Linked DNA regions of Homo sapiens: region 1 is linked to region 2. Evidence: promoter capture Hi-C in 16 types of primary human blood cells and fetal thymus (Javierre and others, 2016). All regions are on one chromosome and are shown on one strand. Each heading gives the region's core, a stretch centred on a gene start or on the middle of the fragment in contact. The rest is flanking DNA. Distances are from core to core; before and after follow the strand shown.

What was found. Contacts are between HindIII fragments. The CHiCAGO score rates a contact against its expected background, and 5 or more counts as called.
Region 1: a contact is called between a fragment that was not itself captured here and the fragment with the promoter of LINCMD1 in region 2, in 1 of 17 cell types (neutrophils). The highest score is 9.8, in neutrophils.

What each region holds. Positions count from the first base shown.
Region 1 is chr6:50,813,050-50,819,192 of GRCh38, forward strand. It overlaps LOC124901490 (a long non-coding RNA gene), which reads right to left and starts at 5,977. Exons shown (of 2, transcript XR_007059923.1): 1 at 5,853-5,977; 2 at 4,196-4,595. TFAP2B (transcription factor AP-2 beta) reads left to right here and starts at 5,822. Exons shown (of 7, transcript NM_003221.4): 1 at 5,822-5,923. The coding sequence starts at 5,843. The HindIII fragment of the contact is 2,729 bases long and covers 1,595-4,323 here.
Region 2 is chr6:52,146,791-52,153,086 of GRCh38, forward strand. LINCMD1 (long intergenic non-protein coding RNA, muscle differentiation 1) reads right to left here and starts at 4,233. Exons shown (of 3, transcript NR_131248.1): 1 at 4,092-4,233; 2 at 578-677; 3 at 24-147. It overlaps MIR133B (microRNA 133b), which reads left to right and starts at 2,133; the gene lies at 2,133-2,251. RefSeq lists an enhancer at 6,061-6,296. The HindIII fragment of the contact is 4,773 bases long and covers 1-4,644 here.

The sequences.
Region 1 (6,143 bases), core at 1,709-4,208, 1.3 Mb before region 2:
GTGTTCATGTGATCACGCTACTGCACTCCAGCCTGGACAACAGGGTGAGACCCTGTCTCAAAAGAGTAATATTTAAAATAAAAAAATTAATTAATTACTACTTGATGCTTTTATCAGTTTCATAAAGTCCATTCCTATGGAAGAAGCTTGCATATCACCTAGTAAATTCTCCTTTTTTTTTTTTTTTTGAGACGGAATTTTGTTCTTATCCCCCAGGCTGGAGTGCAATGGCGTGATCTTGGCTCACTGCAACCACCACCTCCTAGATTCAAGCGATTCTCCTGCCTCAGCTTCCCAAGTAGCTGGGATTACAGGCGTGCGCTACCATGCCCATGTAATTTTGTACTTTTAGTAGAGACGGGGTTTCACCATGTTAGCCAGGCTATTCTCAAACTCCTGACCTCAGGTGAAACACCCACCTCAGCCTCCCGAAGTGCTAGGATTGCAGGCATGAGCTTCTGGCCGAATTCTCCTCATTTTATCAACGAGAAAACTGAGATCTGGAAAGGTCAGAGGACTTGCCAAAGGGAATATAACTGGTAAGTGAAAAACTCATCTTATGTCAAAGAAATAAAAAAGAGGCATAAAATGAAGATCCTTCCCTATTTTTATCAGAATGTCAAATCGTGAATTTTAGGAAGTAGTTCCAATATAATGCTAATTTCTCCCAAATGTCCCTTGTATTTATGAGACACTTCAGCTCTGATGCTATACATTGTATGTGTTTATTCATGCTTTAAAGGTTATATTTCTGCTCTACATCTTTCAAAGTCTTTATTTGCAAATTTTTTTCCTCACAGATGTGTACTGGTCTACTGGTTGCATTTTGAAACCAAATTGTTTAGTATTCTCACCCTTCAAGATTTCTCCTTCTTAAAGCAATAATATGGAAAACATCCACAATGATGAAAGTACCTGTCCTCCTGCATTAGTCATGGCAGAGGAGACACACACCTCTCACATTTTGAATGTGAAATGCCCATTGGTGTTGAAAACAATTGTTGCATGGCTGTTTGCATCATTTGCTTCAGCCCCTCATCTTCCTTTCCTTAACCTCTTTACCTCCAAGAGATAGGAATTTCAAAACTGTCCCCTTAGCCACTTCATACCCCCGTAGTTAAACAGAAAAGCTTAAGGGGATCAGGACATCTAAAATCTATAATGAAATTACTATTGCTCCTCAAAAGTCCCAGGGAAAGGGTGAGTTTTCACAGTTACAGTTATTTTTATTCTCACAAGTGATTTCAACTCAGTATCTTTTACAAATTTACAAATGTACCATCAACTAAATATTATGATTAAAGTAAGAAATGCTCTTTCCTGTTTAGTGCTTGCCTCAATCTCGATAATTATGAAGAGTCAGTCTAAAGATAACCCCACCCACATTTCATTTTTTAAAAACACTCCTGTGCAAACATTAGTCCCTCCTATTTTGTTTCCTCATACCAAGTCACTGAAACCTATATGGTATCAAAGCCCTAGAAATCTGAAGGCAGGTGCTTAAATTGTAGTTTCAGACATTCAACAGTATTTTGTTTCCAAATTGATGATAAAAACACCTACTGAATCTTCCCCAAAAATATAATCATGAGAAAGCTTAAGACAGAAACATGGTAGGAAAATTAGGAGCCAGACTGCAACAGTAAAAAATGGAGCTGTCATGTTTTATCATTTTTTAACTTATCAAGATCTGTTATATGGATGTCGTGTCTTATTATTCAACTCAGCAGACAATAATGCTTCTGATGGGTAAGAGGTGGGGCAATATCTGAGGATGCTGAAGTAAGACAGTTTTTCCTTCCTCTCTTCTTTCCTTTGCCTACTTATAAATCCAGGACTATAAAAAATAACCCTGGACATACTCAATGATCCAAAAATACTGTCTTCTTAACTTCAGAAGGAAAGAAGTAAGACAGCATCATGAGACTGTGGGCAAAGCGTTGAGTACACAGTCTGAAGACCTATATTGGGTTTCCCACCTCCACTTTCTAACCAGGAGTTTATTGCAAATCCCTGGTTTTTAGAAGCCTCCACTTTCCTGACCCCCCGCTAAGTGTTTTGAGACAATGATGATAAGTTAAATTGTTTATGAAGCAATAGTACCACATATATTTACCCACAGATACTATTTTAATAAATTTTCACAATCATTTCCATTTTGTAGTTCAGTGCACTGAACCTCAGGCTATTAAATAGCCTGCCCCACCGCCTAGAATGAGAAAGGCCAGGGTGCAAACTTGGCACAATAATTCTAATTCTTGACTTTTCTAATTTTATTATTTTTGTGCGTTGGGTAGATGGAAAGGGGAAACCCAGGGAGACTGTGTAATGGAAAAAGAAAAGGTGGTACAGTGGGCATCTGCAAAGGAAGATAGTTCATGGAGTGTTAACCCACAGGTGCAAAGGTGAGGGCTAGTGGAAGGAAGGAAGTCAAATAAATTTAGATAATTCATAATTAGATTTTTAGAAGAAAGATGAAAGAAGACATGAAAGTGCTCCTAGTTGACCTTGATTTAATAATGATATTTTTCTGTACATTTTTTAAAAAACAGTCCTGAACATACTTCGAAAATCACCAGCAGAGGGCTTCATGCTGGGTGCATTTGCTTTTAATTATAGACTCCGACATTTACTGAATAATATTCCCTCTATATGAGGCTGAAAAAAAAAGAGGGTATGAATAATTCTTTTCTTTGCTGTTTTAAACTGAAATAAATGCAAATGAAAGAGGAAAGTACGAGTGTTAACTATCTGGGATGTCTCAAGTGCGGTTCCACCTAGGAGAGCATGTGCGTAACCTGAAAAAGAAATATGGACATAAGGCAAGATAAAATAACGAGGAAAATGCATATTTTACTCGTTTAATTTCCTTCAAATCCAGAGTTTGTTTTGCCTTTGTGTTTCCATTTACTGAGTTCTTGCGGGAATAGTTTCCCTACGTCATGTGATTGAGTGATAACGCGAAAGGTAATAGAAAGTAAAAGCAAGAGAGGTAGGTTCAAGTTAGGAAAAATTTTCTCCGTAGCGGCTGAGCTTTTATTGTGCGTTTCTTCGGGCGTTTGAACTTTTTAGATGCTGGAACGATCGTTTCTAAAATTAGTAAATATCATAAGAAGTGAACTTTAAAAATGTTCCTCTCAATACCAGGTTTTCAAGAACGGAAAGAAACCTTTGCCGAAAAAGAAATCAAGGAGACTTGCAGGGTTTGCGTCTATAAAATTCCGACAGAGGGCGCTGTTGCCCGTTCAATGACAGGGAACGGTCCGTGGGAACGGTTTACCTTGCAATGTCTAGGACTTTTCGAATAACGCCCACGTTAAAAAAAATAACTAGGATTTTAATTATGGTTATGTATTTTGAAGGTATTTCTCTATATATATGTGTATATTTTTAGGTTTATGCTTCATTCTTAATAAAACCAGATTTGTTATTTTTCAGGTTTCCTAAAGAACTTAAATTTTAACCAAATATCTCAAGATATTTCCACTTTAAAAAATACCTAATACTAGCATAAAATAAAATTACACATAAAAAGTTTGAAATTATTCATATATAAGGCTATAAAATAGTTATACTAACACAATACCTTATATTATTTTAATTTATGTGTAAAATTATCTCTTGCAGGTTTTGTTTTGTTAAATCTCAGAGTTTATTTATTTTAGACTAGGCAATAATATACCAAAAAGATATTAAAAGGTGTTAAAAGCATTTAGAGAAAAAAAGTGAGATTTTTCCAAATGCATTTTATTTGGGTTGTAATGATCTTTAGGTAATAACAATGACAGAATTATTGATTTGAAAGGGAGAAAACAATTATTTCCATTAATTAAATGTCTTGTGCCTGGAGAATCTGAACTTCCAAGTCTATAATATTTATCTTTCAGATTATTGATCTGGCACTGATTTTAGTTCTAGAAGTCAGGGGGTGTGGAACCCGTTTCAAGTCCCACCACACAATAAGATTAAGAAAAATCCCTTCTCATCTCCTAACTAGCTCTGGAAGCAAAGAAGAAAATCTTTGCTGATGCTCCTAGTGAAAAATCTGTATAGATTGTGTATGATTTAAGGTTAACATTTAAAGGGGAAGAAAGGAATGGAGAGAGAAAGGAAGGAACGAAAAGGGAAATGAAGGAAAGAAAAAAGGAAAACAAAAAGGAGGAAGAGGAGAAAAGGAAAGACGAAACATAAAAAATTCAACCGGAAATAAGGGGTTTATTTCTGAAGTTCCTTCTGAAGCACCTTCTTTGTGTTCTTTTCCTTTGACTTATCTTTAAAAATTAAATTAAAAATCTGCAGAATTGTTTATTCTGCAGTTCATGAAGCTTCTCCTTGGTTTTGATTGAATCGACGTCCAACAAGGTTGTCCGGAGCCCTGTACTCAAACAGCGTCCATCCCTGTTCGCGCAGAGCTGCACACAGCAGTCCTGGATTTAAAGACAATCACCCTTTGCAGATTCACTCTCACCAGGCTTAATAACTTCCACCCCAAATTGCCCCATCCCTCCTCGGTCCCTCCTGGCATTTCTTTTCTGTCCCAGGCGCAGAGATCCTCTTCTGGGCGTCTGTTCCGGCTATGAGAAGCTCTCCGCACCCTGAAAGGGAGTAGAAAAACAGAGGGGATGGGAAAGGGGGAACAGGGGAACAGATGAGTATTCATTTCATGATAAAATTCAGAATCCCTGCGCCTTAAATGGTGCCCATTTTCTAAGTCTGGTTAATATTGTTCTTGTTGCTGATGATGTTTTCCTTTTTAAAAACTATATGAATCATCTTATTAAGAAAAATTATACAAAAAAAAGAAGAAACTCCACATGCACTAAAATATTTTTCACTATCTCTTTGAAGACATTCTGCTTAAACCTTTTCAAAGATTCGGGTGGCCCTTTCTTGACTCTCCATGATTAAAACCACTTACAAGTCATACACAACAGATGCAAATATAAAATGTCCTTGGCCTCTGCAAAAAAGGCTCAAAATTAACCTTGTCTGAACGTGTGCGTACGTTGCTTCCAACATCTGAAAAAAACTTGATAAAATGGAGACTCCAGCCAAGAGGAATGGTGCATGGAATCCGTTGAAAATGCATACAAACAACACCTAAAATAACAAGCAGCACAAACTGAGGTGTATTTAAGTTTCCAAAGGTTTTAGGTAAAATGACCAGAAAATATTAGAAATGGTCATCAACGGTGGCTAGCTTTTTTGTTCTATGGTGACAGAGATAAAGTTAAAAAAAAAAAAGTTGTGTAGCCATCAACACAGAGATAGTCCTTAAAATCCCCCATATCCAGCCTTTCAAAATACTCTCTTCCGGAACATACATGAATAGGAGGGAGCTTTTGTGTTTAAAAATCTTGGTAAGTGTCCCCCTTTAAAATCTACATAGAAAATAGGGGACTGATGGCCCCTGGTTTCTCATTATGAATTGCAAAGACTTCAGTTAGTGGCTACAATGATGTGTCATTTTCGATATAGAAGTTATAAAATGTATATATTATATTAATCACCCTGAACAACTCTTTGTTAAATGCACATTTGGAGTCTGCAGACTGTGTGACCCAGAGGTGCTTATATAACTATATGTGGGTGTCTGGGTGTAAATACGGGTTTATGATTTTTATAGTATATATGTCTGTGGGTTGCATCTAACTCCTGTGTGTGCAATAATGTTTTTTCTCTTTGCTGAGGCTTACTTGTCCAGCCTATTGTTTGAGACAACAGATATAAGTTGCGATGGGAGAGGAGCGTCGGATTTGGTGTGTATCCCCCATTTCCAATTATAGATGGATCATTACAGACAGCGGAGTCCTGAGAAGCCAGACATCTGCTCCTCACATGAATGCACTCACCTCCTAGAGACCAGGCTGCCATCATGCTCTGGAAGCTTGTGGAGAATGTCAAGTACGAAGATATCTATGAGGTGAGTCGACACCCCCAGATGCACCTTAGAGCTTTGCAGATAGAGAATTTGAGCTTCTTGATACCCCAAATGATATATATTTTTAAGCTATTTACTCGTAGATTTCCGGTCGGTTTTCTCAGCTTTTTTTAACTTTTAGAAAAGCTGGCTAGGGAAGACTTCGCTGCTCTGAAAAGGGACTTTAAGGCTGAAATCTGACAACTTTAATTTAGGAATGTTT
Region 2 (6,296 bases), core at 2,983-5,482:
TTGATGTCTGGGATATCTTATTTATTCCATACAGAGCTCCCAAGCTGGAGTCCATCTTGCAGAAGTTGGCATCGCTGGTTAAACTCATTCTGTGTTTCCTGATCAGCAGTTTCAACAATTTCAATGATGAAGTGCAAACACTTGCAGCTGAGGAAGGGAAACATGTAAAGGACAGGCTGGAGTTGAGAGTGAACTTCTTGGCCTCCAAAGCAGTCAGGATTGTCTCTAGGACTTTCCCACACCCCTGACACTGTCCATGGTGCCCACTAGGGACACAGTGCACCTTTCCTTCCTTGTCATTAAGCCTCGCAACAAGCAGGCAGAGTAGATACAACCTTCTCCTGCTGTGCAGATGTAGAAACTCAGGTTAAAAGATGTTATGTAACTTCCTAGAAGCAAAAGAGCCAGGAAAGCATTGGTAGGATTTGAACCCAGATAAGTGTGACTCCAAGGCCACATGCATTCCACTTAGTTTTACTTGTCTTCATCAGGAAGAGAAAATAAAAGGGCTGCAATGCCTAGCCCCCAGGGAGAAGGACAATTTTCTAGCATCATTCAAACTATCCTTTCTGCCTACCTCTTTTCCCACCTGCTCCCATACATCGTGAAGACTGGCAGGCCACCTTTCTGGGGAGTTTCTTCTTCTTAGTCAGCTCTCTCCCACAGCTCACACCTCCCTAGAAACAGAGAGAAACCAGTGGGTACTCCTATTAGTTCAGTGGTTCTCAAACTTGAGCTGCATCGGAATCACCCAAAGGGCAGGTTATAGCACTAATTTCTGGGTCCTACTTCCAGATGTTTCGGGCTGGTAAGTGTTGCCATTCTTTTACAAGGCCAACATACAAATCCAGAGTTCTCCTTTAAAATCTGCAAGAATCAAAGATTTTTCCACCTCCTTTGAGAAACAGTTTAGTCAATGCTATCCCCTTGTTAAACCAAACAACCTCAATGTCTATGGCTGGGAGAATAAATAAATTATAGTATATTCACACAGTAGAAAACCATAAAGCAATGAAAATTAATAAACTGCTGCTACCACATCAATATGGATGAATCTTGCAAATATCATTTTAAATGAAATATCAAGTCACAAAACAATACCTATGATATGATGCCATTATATACTAAAATATGCATATATATTGTTTAGAAATATATGCATAAATGGTAAAAACTATAAAGAAAAATATCAAAATCATAAGAAAAAATAAATTCAGTGTGATTGTTACCTCCGGGGGGAAACATAAAGAAATAAATTGGAAAAAGCATTCAGTACAAAGAAAGCAATAGTATAAAACAGTAAAAAATAGTTCTTTTTAAAAGGTAGATCGTTGGGCCAGGCGTGATGGCTCACGGCTAAAATCCCAGCACTTTGAGAGGCTGAGATGGGTGGATCACCTGAGGTCAGGGGTTTGAGACCAGCCTGGCCAACATGGCAAAACCCCATTTCTACTCAAAATACAAAAATAGCGGGACATGGTGGCAGGTGTCTGTAATTCCAGCTACTCAGGAGTTTGAGGCAGGAGAATCACTTGAAACAGGAGGCAGAGGTTGCAGTGAGCTGAGATAGCGCCACTGCACTCCAGCCTGGGTGACAGAGTGAGACTCCATCTCAAAAAAGTAACAACAAAAAAAAGTAGATCGTTGTTCATGGGTATTGGTTTTACCATTATGTACCATCACTTATATATTATAAATATTCTTTTATAAATATATCATACTTGAATTAAAAACATAATTTAAAGAAATTAAAATGTTAAGCATTCAAAGAATATATGCCAAAATGTTACATTTCTTTCGGAAAATGGGAAGAGGAAGCATTATGGCATACTGTCATTTTTCATATTCTATAATTCTATAGCATATTTGATCTTCATGATGTTTCTATTTGAAAAAAGATTAAAGATTAAAGAAAAAATAAATTGAAGTCATGCAACATGAAATACAAATTATGTATGATTTGTATGTACAAATTGTATGAGATGTATGTACAAATCATGTAAGAGGACATTCTGGACAAGGCAAGCTCCTGGCATTTGACAGATGCTAATGCTGCTTCTTTTTGCATTACAGGCTTAGACAAATGATGCTTGAGACACACCAAGATACCTGCACACTAGAGGCTGCAGTCACCTCAGAAGAAAGATGCCCCCTGCTCTGGCTGGTCAAACGGAACCAAGTCCGTCTTCCTGAGAGGTTTGGTCCCCTTCAACCAGCTACAGCAGGGCTGGCAATGCCCAGTCCTTGGAGAAACAGAAGAGATTCAACTGCAACTGAAATTACCTACTAAAACTTTCCTTGAGAAAACAATTCTGGTTTTTTCACCATATTCTTATGCTCCCAGGAAGGAAGAGAAGAGGAGTCCTGGAGTCAAAAGTGAGCAAGATTTTAATGCTCAACACACACTGTTCTGTGCCTTTGCACTCACAGCTGCAGCCACTTACATGCTTTTGACAGACACACAGTCAAGAAAGAGTTTGAGGATGGAGTTTGTGCCAACCCTAAGCCAGCCAGGGGAAGAGCATGAGACATAGAAGACAGGGCTCCTGCTCACTAGGGGCTAACAGTCTAAGGAAAGAAATTAGACATGTATATATGGTGTGATCCAATTGAATTGCAAGTTATAGCATGGCTAGTTCCAAGGCATAATTCTTACCTATCCCACCAAATATGCCTAGCACATTATGTATCATCAAGTCTCTATTGATCTATTCAGCCCAAGATATCTATTCACTAAGCAATCATTTCTCAGTTCCCTGATCTGTAGAATAGGGATAATAGTACCTGTCACACCAGGCACAGTGGCTTATGCCTAAAATCTCAGCATTTGGGGTGGCTAAGACAGGGGATTGCTTGAGGCCAGGAGTTCCAGATCAGCCTGGTCAACATAGCAAGATGCTGTTTCTACCAAAAAAAAATTTTTTTTGTTTTAATTAGCTGAATGCGGTAGTGCACACCTATAGTCCTAGCTACTTGGGAGGCTGAGGCAGGAAGATCACTTAAGTCCAGGAGATGGAGGCTGTAATGAGCTAAGTTCTCATAATCGCTACCTTTTACTAAGGGAGAATTCTGACCTGTCCTTCCAGTTTATCTTTTAAGATTTGTATCTTTTATGGTGTGTGTCTGGAACTTAGACAGTAATAAGTAAATATTTGGGTTTAAAATTCTATAGACATGTGTGTTCACATGCTGTATTCTGACACAAATGGGGTAGCATAAGTGCCTAGAGCCCACCACAGTGACCTCAGAGGAGAACACAGAGCTTACTAGCACAAATCTTTGCATTCAGGAAGACCTGGGGTTGAATGCTGCCCCTCTAATTTATTAGCTGTGATATATCCTCTCCGCAGCTCAATTAACATTGCACAAGCCTTAGTTTACTCATCTGTAAAATGGGGACAATGATACCAACCTCAGTTACCGTAAGGCTTAAAACAGACAGTGTTAATAAAGAGCCAAATATAAGCCCTTAAGAAATAGTAGCTGTTGTTTTACTGCTGTAAATGGCAACAGCACAAGGACAATGCTGTGTCCACAGGCACTTGTATGTAGAAGGAAAGAGCCAAATTAAAAAAAAAATAGGAGAAGAACTCAAAAAATACATAAAGGCTCATTGCTCACTGTAGGGTTTTGTTTTTTGTTGTTGTTGTTTTGTTTTTGTTTTTGTTTATTTTTTGAGACAGGGTCTCACTCTGTTGCCCAGATAGGAGTGCAGTGGCACGATTTCAGCTCACTGCAACCTCCGCCTCCCAGGCTCAAGCGATTCTCCTGCCTCAGCCTCCCAAGCAGCTGAGATTACAGGCACGCACCACTACCACCCGACTAAGTTTTATATTTTTAGTAGAGACAGGGTTTCACCATGTTGGCCAGGCTGGTCTTGAACTCCTGACCTCAAGTGATCCGCCCGCCTTGGCCTCCCAAAGTGCTGGGATTACAAATGTGAGCCACCGTGCCCAGCCTATAGGGTATTTTTATATTCCAACTATTAATTCTACTAGCATGTAGCATACATGCATTCACCCTAGTACATATGACTAGCATATAATATGCTTTACTTTTAAAAAATGCTTTATACATGAGACTGATCTTACCATCTTCAATATCCTGTCTGGAAAGCCTTCATTTGTGAGTGCTGTTGAGATCACATGTCCTCCCAAGTAGGACATGGAGTGTGAAGGCCATTGAGTGGGTGTTCCAAAGGGCAGCACAGAATGGAGTTTAGTTGAAGGTGCTGGGGACACACTACCTGGGCTCAAGTCCCAGCTCCCCACTCTCCAGCTGTGCCACTTGAGCAAGTTGCTTGACCTCTCCAGGCCTGGGTTTCCTCATCTGTAAAGTAGGAATATTGATAATAATATCTACTTCATAGAGTTTCATGAGAATACATGTAAAGGCCTGAAACCAGTATTGGGTACATAATAATACATTCTTAAGAGTCTTTATTTCTGACAATGTACCTGAAATGTTCCTGAAATTAAGTTGGTGTTCAATAAAAACATGTTCACTGAAAGATCAGCTTCTTTGTTTATTTTAAGCACAAACTATGGGATCATGTAATTTTTGGTTCAACTATTTCTACTTATCTCTTTCAATGCAGCACACTGGTTCAAAGCAGTAGTAAGGTGTGGGGGAAGGATGGCAACAAGCTTCTCTCTGCTTCCCAGGTCTGTGATGAAATGGAACTTCCCTGCGAACTAGGGGTATGCCTCTGGGAGTAGAAGCAGGGTGATCTTGAAGCGCAGTCGCAGAGCTGTCACCCGGAAGTCACCTGGCAGAACAGAAAACAAACATGATGTGGCCAAATACCAGCTGTCCTTAACAGGAGGGATCTTTTCCATCTGGAAGGGCAGAGGTCATGTAGGTAAAGATTAGATAACAATGCCAGGTATAGGTAAAAGGAGTGTTAAAAAAGGGTCACTTTCATATTTGGGATATTATGGCTAAAATGCCTGATAAAACTGGACAAGACATATAAGGCTAAGACTAAATAATGTCTTCTCTCTGTTAGAAAGAAGCCAGCCAGGCCAGGCATGAGGGTTCTTGTCTATAAATCCCAGCACTTTGGGAGGCCAACGCTGGCGGATCTCTTGAGCTCAGGAGTTCAAGACCAGCCTGAGCAAAACTCCATCTCTACAAAAAATACCAAAAATTAGCTGGGCACAGGGATGGGGACGCTGAGGTGGGAGGATCGCTTGAGCCCAGGAGTTTGATTGAGGCTGCAGTGAGCTGCGATGGCACCACTGCACTCCAGCCTGGGTGACAGAGTGAGACCCTGTCTCAAAAACAAAAGAAAAAAAAAGAAGGAAAGAAGAGGGAGGGAGGTAGAGAGGGAGGGAAGGAGTGAGAGAGGGAGGGAAGGAAGGAAGGAAGTTAAGAAGGGAGAGAGGGAGGGAGGGAGAGAAAGAAGGTAAAGGAAAGGAAGGAAGGAGAGAGAAAGGAATAAAGAAAAAGAAAAGGAGAGGAGGGGAGGAGAGGGAAGGGGAGCAAGCTAGCACACTTCTGGCAAGGGTTGGAGAACATGAGTGAACATTGTCATCCAACTTTCTACCTATCCCCTTGCCCTCAAGGGTCTTTGCAGAACACATCTTTGAGGGCCACAGGATGGAAGGAGTTCTAGTCATAGCCTGCCTCCAAAGTCAAAATATCGTACTGTCCCCTCTTATTCACTCCTGGAGAATTCAACTTCCATTCACATTTCTGTTTGATTTTCCTTAAACCAGGAGGGGAGCAAATGTATTCCTGCTCCCACTCACCACTATAAAAAGACAGAACCTTTAAGAAAACATGTTTTCTGGTAAGTTTGAATGACCTTGATATCCATGTTCAAAGGTCCCACAAGCCCAAACTCTCCATTTCCGTAAGAAATCAAGAGGAATCAGAGAATGGGGACTGCTGCCCACGGGTTGCGGTTGCTCATCCTGCCACAGCCCCTCTTCAGGGCAGAAATCTAGGTTAGGCCACCCAGTGGGGTGTGTGGTTTTGTGATTGCTGCTGTGTCCCTTTATGTGTGTTCCTGTATCATCATCAGTCCTGTGCCAGTAAGTGGCAGCCCATGATGTCACACCGGTCAAACATGACGACTCTTGGTCACCCTCAGAATGGACCCCACCCCCACATCTGGTGAGTGTTGGGAGGAAGAAAGTGATAGCACAGGCGTGCTGAAGGAGCTCTTCCCCGGAAGGAGTTGACGGAAAATAGTGCGGGGCTATCTAACTGGCAGGAATCCAGACAAACAAGAAAATCCCATTAGTGCAGTCCATCAACGAGTTTCTTTCTGATGGTAATTCCCAGGGCTG